2 separate regions of the Homo sapiens genome follow, and region 2 is linked to region 1. Evidence: promoter capture Hi-C in human tissues and cell types (Jung and others, 2019). All regions are on one chromosome and are shown on one strand. The core of a region is centred on a gene start or on the middle of the fragment in contact, and the rest is flanking DNA. Distances in the headings are between cores, read along the strand shown. Region 1 holds the start of MUC17 (mucin 17, cell surface associated). Region 2 has its middle 20 kb from the start of LNCPRESS1.

What was found. Contacts are between HindIII fragments. The study calls those that stand out against the background at their distance.
Region 2: a fragment that was not itself captured here is called in contact with the fragment with the promoter of MUC17 in region 1 in 4 of the 25 tissues and cell types used here (IMR-90 fibroblasts, bladder, heart left ventricle and 1 more).

What each region holds. Positions count from the first base shown.
Region 1 is chr7:101,015,389-101,021,534 of GRCh38, forward strand. It overlaps MUC17 (mucin 17, cell surface associated), which reads left to right and starts at 4,693. Exons shown (of 13, transcript NM_001040105.2): 1 at 4,693-4,829. The coding sequence starts at 4,748. It overlaps MUC12 (mucin 12, cell surface associated), which reads left to right. Exons shown (of 12, transcript NM_001164462.2): 10 at 227-303; 11 at 2,187-2,275; 12 at 3,207-3,548. The coding sequence ends at 3,248. MUC12-AS1 (MUC12 antisense RNA 1) reads right to left here and starts at 2,220. Exons shown (of 3, transcript NR_120520.1): 1 at 2,027-2,220. RefSeq lists enhancers at 1-551, 1,984-2,033, 2,104-2,253, 3,444-3,593 and a silencer at 3,100-3,394. The HindIII fragment of the contact is 20,706 bases long and covers 2,172-6,146 here.
Region 2 is chr7:101,276,780-101,283,222 of GRCh38, forward strand. No RefSeq gene overlaps it. Among named protein-coding and RNA genes, the nearest start is that of LNCPRESS1, 20 kb to the right of the region's middle. The HindIII fragment of the contact is 6,351 bases long and covers 41-6,391 here.

The DNA.
Region 1 (6,146 bases), core at 3,443-5,942:
AGGGCCACTAAAGGGAGTGAGGGGCAGCCAGGAGGCCTGGCCAGTGCTTGCCTTGGTAGAAGGGAAGCCATGGTGATGCTACTTTTTGTTCTCTGCCATCATCGCTGCCATCTCTGACTCGGGGTGTGGCTGTGACTGTCCCCTCGAGGGAAGCTGAAGGTCAGGGTCCACCAAGTCCCTCCTCAGCCTCCTTGCCTACAGCTGCTCAAGGCATTTCTGTCTGCAGGGAACAGTATGATGTGCCTCAAGAGTGGCGAAAGGAAGGCACCCCTGGCATCTTCCAGAAGACGGCCATCTGGGAAGGTACCTCTAGTTAAGGGCAAGGAGATGAGCAGAGCTGGAGGGTGAAGAAAGGCAGGGCGGTGCCTGTGCCTGTGGGGGTGACGTGGGGTCCAGCCCCCCTTTGGGGTGGCTGTGACTGACAGCCCGTTCCCTACCTGCCGCTGCAGCCCCGGACCCAGACACCACCCCTGCTGTGTGCAAGAGTGCAGGAGTGGTTGAGAACCAGATCTTGCCCCCAGAGACCAACTCAGTGAGGGCATCCAGTGCACACTCAGCTAAGCGGGGTGATAGGGCCATTCCCAGGGCAGAGGGAGCAGAGGGGTGGACCTGACCCAGCCTGGGTGGGGATAGGGGGTCAGATTAGCCCCCAGGTGAGACTGACTCTTGAATAGGTGAGTAAGCAGGTGTGCTTCCTCCTTCAACACAGTGGGAGCCCAGTAAGCAGGGAGGCCTTATCCCAGTGAGGACAAGGGAAAGGGCACCCCAGGCAGGGGGCACTGCATGAGAAACGCCTGCAGTTGGGAAGGAGCTTGCTTTTGGCGGGGAAGGGAAGGCAGGTCAATCTCACAAAGAAAGAGTGAGGGACGTGAGGTTGGCAGGGCTTTGGGAATGGGGTGGGGGGTTGAGGGGCTTTGGCCGCCCACCTTTTTTTGTGAGACAGAGTCTCACTCTGTCACCCAGGCTGGAGTACAGTGGCACAATCTTGGCTCACTGCAACTTCTGTCTCCCAGGTTCAAGCGATTCTCCTGCCCTCAGCCTCCCTAGTAGCTGTGATTACAGGCATGCCACCACGCGTGGCTAATTTTTGTATTTTTAGTAGAGACTGTAGAGACAGGGTTTCATCATGTTGGCCAGGCTGGTCTCGAACTCCAGACCTTAGGTGATCCGCCCGCCTTGGCCTCCCAAAGTGCTGGGATTACAGGCGTGAACCACCATGCCCGGTCACATTTTGAATTTTTTTTACTCAAAAGGCCATTCAGGGAGCACTAAAGCAGGGAGACCAGGTGGAGGAAGTGAGGCTGAGGGGGTGGGGGGAGGGAGAGGAGACGCAGCCTGGTGGAGATGAGGCTGAGTGGGTGGGAGAGGGAGAGGGAGTGAGGGAGGATTTCCGGGATTGTCCGAGCTGACCCTTGGGCCCCGAAGGATGGGGGAGAAGCAGCCGGTGGAGCACACTGAGTTGGGGGGCTGGTGGGTGCTGAGGAGGAGGCTGCAAGGCTCGTGCCTGTCTGAATCTCCGGGAGGGGTCTGCAGCCTGAACCACGTACTGGAATAGAGGTTTGTCCATTCATCGGGGAGAATGCAGAGTGAGAAGTGAGGAGGGTGAAAGGAGAACCCCCCCCCAGGAGCCCCCGTAGAAGGACAGGTAGGGCATGAGGACCCCGATCTAGGAGGACGCAGGAAAAGAGGGGTCAGAGGTGCAGGGAGAGCCCCGGAGTCCAGAGAGTGAGTGGTTCTGCGGGACCAGGAAGTAAGTGATCGCTGTGCTCCGGGAGGATGCTGGAAGAAGATTCCAGACGCAGCTTTTTTGCCTGCTATGGTTACCGTTGCTATGAAGGAGGGCGGCCCTGCTGACCCAGAGCCAGCCCTGTCTCCCGCTCCACTCTGACCTCACCCCTGAGTCCAGGGCTGAACGCACGCTCCTCCGTGGCCCCCGCTTCCACCCCGTGCATGTGGGGGGCTTCTGCTCCGCTCCCTCCTGTTCCGGGGTCCAGCGGGCGGCTCCCCAGGCAGGCTCTGCACTTACCCGCAGCCCAGTGATGCAGGGTCGGAGGGGTGGTCGGCAGTGGGAAAGGGCGTAGGGCAGATGCCGGGCTGACTCTTCCTTTTGCCAGAGGAAATCCCCTCTGCCCCCTAGTCCTCCCCCTACCAAGGCTCCCATCACTCATCACGGCCTCTCCCTACAGACCAGAATCTGAGGGAGAGCAGATTCGGCCTTGAGAACGCCTACAACAACTTCCGGCCCACCCTGGAGACTGTTGACTCTGGCACAGAGGTGACTCAGCTGCGAGCTGCCCCCACCCCCTGAGGCTGCTCCACTTCCTCTGGGGTTCCCTCTTCCCCCGGGACTCCCTTCTCCCCCTGGGACTCCCTTCTCCCCCTGGGACTCCCTCCCTTCCCCCTGGGACCCCTTCCCTTTCCCTTCCCCCTGGGACTCCCTTCCTCCCCCTGGGACCCCTTCCTTTCCCCCTGGGACTCCCTCCCTCCCCCTGGGACCCCTTCCCTTCCCCCTGGGACTCCCTCCCTCCCCCTGGGACCCCTTCCCTTCCCCCTGGGATTCCCTCCCTCCCCCTGGGACCCCTTCCCTTCCCCCTGGGACTCCCTCCCTCCCCCTGGGACCCCTTCCCTTCCCCCTGGGACTCCCTCCCTCCCCCTGGGACCCCTTCCCTTCCCCCTGGGACTCCCTCCCTCCCCCTGGGACCCCTCCCTTCCCCCCTGGATTCCCTCCCTCCCCCTGGGACCCCTTCCCCTTCCCCCTGGGACTCCCTCCCCTCCCCCTGGGACCCCTTCCCTTCCCCCTGGGACTCCCTCCCTCCCCCTGGGACCCCTTCCCTTCCCCCGGGACTCCCTCCCTTCCCCCGGGACTCCCTCCTCCCCCAGGACTCCCTCCTCTCCTTAGGACTCCCTCCCTCTCCCTGGGACACTCTCCCTACCCCTGGGACTCCCTTCTCCCCCTAGGACTCCCTCCCTTCTCCTGGGACTCCCTCCTCCCCCAGGACTCCCTCCTCACCCTGGGGCCACCCCTTCCCCTGGGACTCCCCCCTCCCCCGCCACTCCCTCCTCTCCCTAGGACTCCCTCCCTCCCCCTGGGACTCCCTCCCTCCCCCTGGGGTTCCCTCCTCCCCGCCAGGGCTCCCTCTTCCTCCTGGGGCTCCCCCTTTCCCGGGTCTGCCCCTTGGCCTCACCTCTTCTCTCCCGTCCCCCAGCTCCACATCCAGAGGCCGGAGATGGTAGCATCCACTGTGTGAGCCAACGGGGGCCTCCCACCCTCATCTAGCTCTGTTCAGGAGAGCTGCAAACACAGAGCCCACCACAAGCCTCCGGGGCGGGTCAAGAGGAGACCGAAGTCAGGCCCTGAAGCCGGTCCTGCTCTGAGCTGACAGACTTGGCCAGTCCCCTGCCTGTGCTCCTGCTGGGGAAGGCTGGGGGCTGTAAGCCTCTCCATCCGGGAGCTTCCAGACTCCCAGAAGCCTCGGCACCCCTGTCTCCTCCTGGGTGGCTCCCCACTCTGGAATTTCCCTACCAATAAAAGCAAATCTGAAAGCTCAGAATGAGAAGTGAGAGGTTTCCTTCTCCTCCTTCTGCAGTTGGGGTCAGGTTAGGGGTCAGAGCCCTCCTGGGATGGGATTTCTCCCAGGACTGGCTGCTGAATGGGGCATGGAACGAATGCTCTGGGCCCCTTCCTGTGTCTTTGCAGGGAGCCCCCTCCCCGGCTCCAGTCAGGACAGGTCTAGGCCTGCCTCTGCTGAGGTCCCTGTGGCAGAAAAGCCTAATGTCAGGTTCTGGGGACAGGAGAGGACCTCAGATTCAACCCCAGTTGGCCAGGGAGTGAGCACTTGGCTCTGCTGAGCTTGCACAAGGCAGGGTCACTCCAGATGGCCATGGGAGCTGTGCTTACCTCGGAACCCACAGACCAAACCCAAGAACTCCCTGCCCAGGCATGGCCATGTCTTCAGGGCATACTCATAGGACAATAAGAAGGGTTATTTTATTTATTTATTTTTGCCGAGACAGAGTCTTGCTCTGTTGCCCAGGCTGGAGTACGGAGGCACGATCTTGGCTCTCTGCAACCTCCGCCTCCCAGGTTCAAGCGATTCTCCTGCCTCAGCCTCCTGAGTAGCTGGGATTACAGGCGCCCGCCACCAAGTCTGGCTGATTTTTGTATTTTTAGTAGAGATGGTGTTTCATCATGTTGGCCAGGTTGGTCTCAAACTCCTCATCTCAAGTGATCTTCCCGCGTCAGCCTCCCAAAGTGCTGGGATTACAGGTGTGAGCCACCATACCCGGCCAATAAGAAGGGTTAGAAAAGAGACAAAGGGGGTGTCCCTGCTAGGGGTTAGGGTCAAATGCAGGTGGTACCCTCCTCCTTTCCCAGCTCAGGCCCAGTCCCTCTTGCCCATCTCCCACCACCCTCGGTCGGGGGATCTCATCAGTTCCCCCCTGGCTCCTACAGGCCCTCTGGGCTGCCCCTCTGTTGGGGTGATAAAGCTGATAACCCTCATGCCTATGGGCTGCCGGGCCAGGGAGAGGCACCCCCTCCCTCTGCCCTTTGGCCTGAAACAGGCCCTGCGCCCCAAGTCATGAGGGAAGCTTCCAGACTGACTCAGGCTCAGGCTGGCCCCTGATCCCCAGTGTCTCAGGGACCAAAGGTCTCTGGCACCCATTTATTTATCAGTTTCCTTCTCTGAGGCTCATTTCGCCAGCTCCTCTGGGGGTGACAGGCAAGTGAGACGTGCTCAGAGCTCCGATGCCAAGGCCAGGGACCATGGCGCTGTGTCTGCTGACCTTGGTCCTCTCGCTCTTGCCCCCACAAGCTGCTGCAGAACAGGGTGAGTGACCCCCACGCCCCGCTGCCCAAGAGGCCCCCATCCCAGGGGCCAGCCTGCTCTGTCTGCCCATCCCCGAGGGAGAGCTGCCTCCAGGACACCAATAGGGGTGTGCCCTCTGCCTGGAGCTCAGCCCTGTGCCTACCCCCTGGACTTCTCTTCTCTCCCCAGCGAGCTTTGGGGGAAGAGCCAGGGCATTGGAGCCTCTTCCAGTTGAGGTCTCTGAGCCTTAGTTTCCCCTTCCGAGCCTCAGTCTCCCCTCCGGAAAGTAAGAATAATAACACCTGCTTTTCAGGGCAGCTGCTAGGATTGAAAAGAGCTCCCCCCCCGAGGCATGATCCCTGGCACAAGACTGGTGTTCAACCCATATTAGAGTCTATCCTTACCCAGTGAATGTTCCCGCCAAGTCCCTGTCACCTCCCACACCAGCACACCCTGCTGTGTGCCCCAGGAATGTTTCCGGGACATAGCCACATGGGCACAAAATGGCGTTTCAGGAGCCCCAGATTCTAATCCTGCCATGAACCAGCTGTGCACCCTGGGGCCGCTCAGTTCATCTCCTGCCTCAGTCTCCCCAAAAGACAAGGCATTAGGACCTCTGAGGATCATTCCAGCTCAGCCGCTTTGGGCTTCATGGCCACAGGGACCCCGGGGGGCTCAGAGCAGGAGGGATGACAGTGGGTTCCAGCTGGACTCTCTGGGAGCTCCCTCTGCCCCTCACCTGCCCCCAGAGAAGGGCGCAGGGGAACCAAGACAGAAACTGGACCCATAGACCTCAGGGTCCCTGCCCCTCGAGATGTCACCCTGTGGCAATCTCACCCAGATCTGCCAGCCCATTCGTTGTAATGAAAACACTCCTTTCCTTGCACTTTCTGTGCCTTCCAGACCCTTGGTGATGTATCTCTAATAACAGCATCTTAGACATGATCTTTTGTTTTCCTCCCCAACCCTCACCTCTGTCTCCTCCTTTTTTTTTTTTTTTTTTTTTTGAGACGGAGCCTCGCTCTGTCACCCAGGCTGGAGTTCTGTAGCGTGATGTCAGCCCACTGCAACCTCTGCCTCCCGGGTTCAAGCGATTCTCCCGCCTCAGGCTCTTGAGTAGCTGGGATTACAGCCACATGCCACCATGCCCAGCTAGATTTTGTATATTTTTAGTAAGGACAGGGTTTCACCATGTTAACCGGGCTGGTCTCAAACTCCTGATCTCAGGTAGTCCTCCCACCTTGGGCTCCCAAAGTGCTGGGATTACAGGGGTGAGCCACCGCTCCTGGCCCCCTCCTTTCTTTCTCTCTGCTCCTCCCTTCCCTCTTCCTGGGTTCT
Region 2 (6,443 bases), core at 1,966-4,465, 260 kb after region 1:
TCACCCTCTCCTCCTTTATCCTCTTGCCAAAGCCAAGCTCATTTTCCCTCCACAATGAGGGGATTTTCTCCATGGTATAGCTGATTTTGGTTTTGCTTCAACGGCCAAGTTTCTTCTCCAGTGTAATTTCGGCCAGCACACTGGTCCGACCAGGCCCTACTTGCCCTCAGGACATCTTGTGGCTTACTAATTCTACTGTCTGCTTTTTCCGCCCCAGTTTCCAAAAGGGAATTGGCTGGCCTGGGTGACTTCCCTAAATTTTTGAGCCAGATGACTTCAAAAATCATTGGCCAGCCTATATGGGATCCTGGTCCAGTGAACTGTATATTTGGGGACTTGGTGGGTGGAAGAGAGGCAGGGTCACATGGTGTCACACAGCTGCCTGGGCAGCGGTTTCCATGGAGGGGCCAGGGGTAGCACAGGTGATGGTGCAATGGCCTAGGGCATCCATAGAGGGTTCTCAGAGCCCAATAACTGTACTAGACAACAAGGCTGCTCTGTCGGGAAGAGAGACCAAGTGGAAGAACATGAGGCACCAGTCACGTGACTGCAAAAGCCACTTTGGACATTTCAGCCCCAATAGCTGCTGCGAGAACAGGAGGCCTCAGACATAGTGGAGCAGAAATAAACCAGAATACAAGACTCACGAAACTGAGGGCATCATCACATTCTTGAGTCCGAACGGCCTCAAGGCTTCCATGGCTCGAGAACGTCCCCCAGTTCCCACAGCAGAAATTCCAGTGCCTGTGGGTAGAAAACTTGAGTTCCCTCATGAACATGGCTTTAATAGGGATTGGAAGTGTTTCTTGCCTACTAGACTTAGGATCTTGGGAAACTTTTTGGCTTTGACAGGCTGAAGAAGGGACTGTGGAGGTAGGACTATTTCTTTCTTATTCTTTTTCCTTTCTTTCTTTTTTTTTTTTTTTTGAGACGGAGTCTCGCTCTATCACCCAGGCTGGAGTGCAGTGGCACGATCTCAGCTCACTGCAACCTCCATCTCCCAGGTTCAAGCAATTCCAGGCAGGACTATTTCAAGATAGCCATGTAACAGACAGAAAACGGGCTGGTTCTTCCAGCAAATGGAATTTTAAAATTCCTCAATGGGGCCGGGCGCGGTGGCTGACACCTGTAATCCCAGCATTTTGGGAGGCCAAGGCGGGCGGATCTTGAGGTCAGGAGATCGAGACCATCCTGGCTAACATGGTGAAACCCCATCTCTACTAAACATACAAAAAATTACCTGGGCATAGTGGTACGCACCTGTAGTCCCAGCTACTTGGGAGGCTGAGGCAGGAGGAGAATCGCTTGAACCCGGGAGGTGGAGGTTGTAGTGAGCCGAGTTCATGCCACTGCACTCCAGCCTGGGAGACAGAGCAAGACTCCGTCTCAAAAAAAAAAAAAAATTAGCCAGGTATGGTGATGTGTGCCTGTAGTCCCAGCTACTCAGGAAGCTGAGATGGGAGGATCACTTGAGCCCAGGAGGTCAAGGCTGCAGTGAATTATAATCATGCCACTGCATTCCAGCCTGGGCAACAGAGCAAGACCCCATCTCTTAAAAAAAAAGAAAGTTACCACTTTGGGGAAATTGCAGACTCTAAGCCTAAACTCTACTGGCCCGATACACATGGCAAAATATTTGGTCAGGATTCTGGAAGAATATCAAAGAATTCACAGGGCAGAGGAAAGCTTTGAATATTATGAATGAGGGAAAATTTCCATTCATCTCATAATTCATACTAGAGAGACTCCCAATGAATGGCACCAGCGGAGGAAAATCCTCAGACGGAGGCAAGCAGTTATCGGAGATGCGAAAATCACAGGGGAGGACGTGGCACAGAATAGCGTGGAACCCACGTCACAGCTTGCGCCCAAGAGCATCACACGGGAGAGAACCTGCGTCCTCAATGAACGGCGTTCCAAAAAAGCACAACCGCACCAAGCATCAGATAAGCCATTCTGAGCTCAGTCTTTGGAATGTAATGAATTGGGGGTGGTGATCATTTGAGAAGAAATCAGCCCTTATTCATCAGCTGATGATTCCCACTGGAGAGAGGGCGGGTGCTCGTCACGGATGACGAAGCTCTGGGGGTGCTCCGATCACATATAACACAAGAGGCTGCAGAGGGGACCCAAGGGGGGCTGTCAGGGGGCCTCAGGGTACACGTGACATAAAACGGTTACAAGAGGAAAACATGATGAAAAGGGCAAATTTAGAAAGTGATTTCAGGCTGGGCACTGTGGCTCGCACCTGTAATCCCAGAACTTTGGGAGGCTGAGGTGCGGCGGGGCAGGGGAATCACTTGAGGCCAGGAGTTCAAGACAAGCCTGGGCAACATAGCAAGACCCCATCTCTACCAAAAATCAAACATAAATCAATAAAACATTTTTAAAAGCTTTTCTTTTTTGGAACTTGTCCTGTTAGCACCAGCAATGGCTGTGGGGAATGCAGACACCCTTTGGGGGAGTTTGCTCAGATGACACAGTCGTGCACATGTGATCCTTGGGGCAACTCACAGGGGTGCCCTAATGCCATGTACAAGAATCCAGGCCCAGGCCAGGCGCCGTGGCTCACGCCTGTAATCCAGCATTTTGGGAGGCTGAGGCGGGCAGATCACCTGAGGCCAGGTGTTCCAGACCAGCCTGGCCAACATGTTGAAACCCCGTCTCTACTAAAAATACAAAAATTAGCCATGCATGGTGGTGTGTGCCTGTAGTCCCAGATACTTGGGAGGCTGAAGCAGGAGAATCACTTGAACCCAGGAGGCAGAGGCGGAGGTTGCAGTGAGCCGAGATCACACCACTGCACTCCAGCCTGGGTGACAGAGTGAGAATCTGTCTCAAAAAAAAAAAAAAAGAGGCTCGTGGCCTCTGGGGAACACGCCCCATGAGAAACTGTGGTGGTGGCTGCTTCGTTCATTCCTTCATTCTTTTCATATCTTTGGAGCATCTGTTCTGTGCCTGGCACTACTCTGTGGGGGGATAGAGGACAGGGCAACCTTGGGGGTCAGAGGAGGGTCAGGGAAGTAGCAGCTGCTATTTCAGATTACAGGTGTGTGTGTGTCCCAAGGTTCCAGAGGGGAGGGAGCTTAGGTGGGGGCTCTGGGAAAGAGGGAGGAAGACCCTGATCTAATGACTGCCTACCACGTGTCAGGCTGGCAGGCGATGTCTCACAGCAACCCTGCAAGCTTGGTCCTGTTTTCTGCACTTTGCAAATGGAGAAAATAAGGCACATGTACAGCTGGTAAGTGGTAGAGTCGGTACTGAGACTGGGTTGGCCTCACTCCAAATCCCATTTCTCTTATTTATTTATTTATTTTTAATTTTTATTTTTTTCTGAGATGGAGTCTTGCTCTGTCACCCAGGCTGGAGTGCAGTGGCGTGATCTTGGCTCACTGCAACCTCCGCCTCCTGGGTTGAAGGATTCTCCTGCCTCAGCCTCCCAAGTAGCTTGGCTTACAGGTGTGTGCCACCAAGCCTGGCTAATTTTTGTATTTTTAGTAGAGACGGGTTTCACCATATTGTCCAGGCTGGTCTCAAACTCCTGACCCTCATGATCCACCCGCTTCGGCCTCCCAAAGTGCTGGGATTACAGGCATGAGCCACTGTGCCTGGCCTCTTTTTTTTTTTTAATTTTTTAGAGACAGGGTCTCACTCTGTCACCCAGGCTGGAGTGCACTGGCGTGATCACGGCTCACTGCAGCTTCAACCTTCTGGGTTCAAGCTATCCTCCTGCCTCAGCTTCCCGAGCAGCTGGGATTACAGGCATGCACCACCACACCTGGCTAATCTTTGTTTTTTGTAGAGATGGGGGTCTTACTATGTTTCCCAGGCTGGCCTCAAACTCCTGGCCTCAAGCAATCCTCCTGCCTCAGCCTCCTAAAGTGTTAGGATTACAGGTGTGTGCCACCGTGCCTGGCCCAAATCCCATTTCTTTCCACCATCACAAGGAACAGAACTAGTCCTTCAGCAGCACTGTTCCCTGGGATGTGTCTGCAGAGGCTTGGGAGACAATGAGAGGCACCCAGTGAACAGGGAGGAAAGGGGGTGGAAGGACATGTACTGGCTTTTGCAGACCCTCCTCAGGGAACAGTGAACACATTCATTCCTTCATTCACACATTTAGTCAGTTTTTTGCAGCAACAGGATCTCGTTCTGTCAGCCTGGCTGGAGTACAGTGGCACAATCATAGCTCACTGCACCCTTGAGCTCCTGGGTTCAAGCGACTGTCCCACCCTTGGCCTCCTGAGTAGCTAGGACTACAGGCCACGCCACCACACTTAGCTAAGTTTTTAATATTTTGAAGAGATGGGGTCTCACTATGTTGCCCAGGCTGGTCTCAAACTTCTGGCCTCAAGCGATCCTCCCACCATGGCCTCCCAAAGTGCTGAGATTACAGGTGTGAGCCACTGTACCTGGCCATATTTAGTAAAATCCTTACTGAGCCCTATGGGGTGCCAAGCACAGCGTCGAGGTGCTGGGGATATGCATGCGTGAGGCTGACACGTGCTTACCCTCATGGGGCTTCCATCTGAGAAGGCAGGCAGGCACTCCAGCACGCTAAGTGGTGTGACAGGGGCTCATTGGGCCCCATGGAAGCTCAGAGAATGACATAACACAGACTCGCAGCGTGGAGGGAGACTTCTGGGAAGAGATAACTCCTTATGAAAGGCTGGGAAGGCCAGGTGGGGTGGCTCATGCCTGTAATCCCAGCACTTTGGAAGGCCGAGGCGGGCAGATCATGAGATCGAGATCGAGACAATCCTGGCCAACATGGTGAAACCCCGTCTTCACTAAAAATACAAAAATTAGCTGGGTGTGGTGGCGCACACCTGTAGTACCAGCTACTCAGGAGGCTGAGGCAGGAGAATCGCTTGAACCTGGGAGGCAGAGGTTGCAGTGAGCAGAGATTGTGCCACTCTGCCCTTCAGCCTGGGCCACAGAGTGAGACTCCATTTTTTTTAAGAGAAAAGAAAAGAAAAGAAAAAAGGAAAGAAGGAAGGAAGGAAGAAAGGAAGGAAGGAAGGAAGGAAGGAAGGAAGGAAGGAAGAAAGAAAGAAAGAAAGAAAGAAAGAAAGAAAGAAAGAAAGAAAGAAAGAAAGAGAAAGAAAGAAAGAAAGAAAATGCTGGGAAGAGCCTTCTGGAAAGGTGCATGCAGGAGGGTCTGCTGGTGGCAGAGCTGAGTGATCGCAAACGCAGCTGACATGAGCCCAGTGCTGTCTGGTAACAGTATGTGGGGTGGCGGGTGGCAAGGAAAAAGGCCGGAAGCGAGACCAGGGCATCCGGGGCCCAACAGGCCTTATAAGGAGTTCAGACTGGGTCCTAGGCAATGATGGGAAACCGGTGAAGGGTGTGAAGCTGGGGGTGATGACCCGTGAAGCCCGAGGCTGCAACACAAGGGGAGAGCTGTCCAAAGGTTCGCCAAATTCTGGCCGGGCGCGACGGCTCACGCCTGTAATCCCAGCACTTTGGGAGGTGGAGGCTGGTGTATCACCTGAGGTCAGGAGTTCGCGACCAGCCTGGCCAAGGTGGTGAAACCCCATCTCTACTAAAAATACAAAAATTAGTTGGGCATGGTGGCGCATGCCTGTAGTCCCAAATACTCGGGAAGCTGAGGCAGGAGAATCGCTTGAACCTGGGAGGCGGAGGTTGCAGTGAGCTGAGATCGCACCACTGCACTGCACTCCAGCCTGGCGACAGGGCGAGAATCTGTCTCCAAAACAAACAAACAAACAAAAAAACAATCAGCCAGGCATGGTGGTGGGTGCCTGTAATCCCAGCTACTTGGCTGAGGCACGAGAATCGCTTGAACCCAGGAGGCAGAGGTTGCAGTGAGGCGAGATTACACCATTGCACTCCAGCCTGGGCAACAGAGCAAGACTCCATCTCAAAACAAAAACAAAACAAAAAAACAAAAGAAAAAGCTGTACGCAGGAAGGTCTGTGGGTGGCAGAGGTGAGTGATCGTAATCGCAGCTGACATAAGCCCACTGCTGTCCAAAAACAGAGGCTGTGGGGTGGCAGGCGGCAGGGAAGGAGGCTGGAAGCTGGACCAGGGCATCCTGGGCCCGACAGGCCTTATGGGTCCTGGGCAATGATGGGATATTGGTGAAGAGTGTGAGGCTGGGGGCGATGGCCTGTGAAGCTGGAGGCTGCAACACAAGGGCAGAGCTGTCCAGAGATTTGCCAAATTCGGGCAGAACGATGCAAGAGTGAGCATGTGAGTTCTGTCTTTTTTCCCTCATGAACCAAGGTTTCCAAGAGGCGCACTGAGCAGTGAGCAGGAAAGCTAGGAGCGACTAAGGGTGATCCGAGTGGGAGCTGCCAGCACCAGGTGCCAGAGCTGCGGTTTCCAGCTTTGGGGCCAACGTTCTTAAGCACACATCCCCCTCTTGTGGTCGAGAGCGGTATTGCCGCTGAAGAGAAAGGCTAGAGACCTCCTCCAGG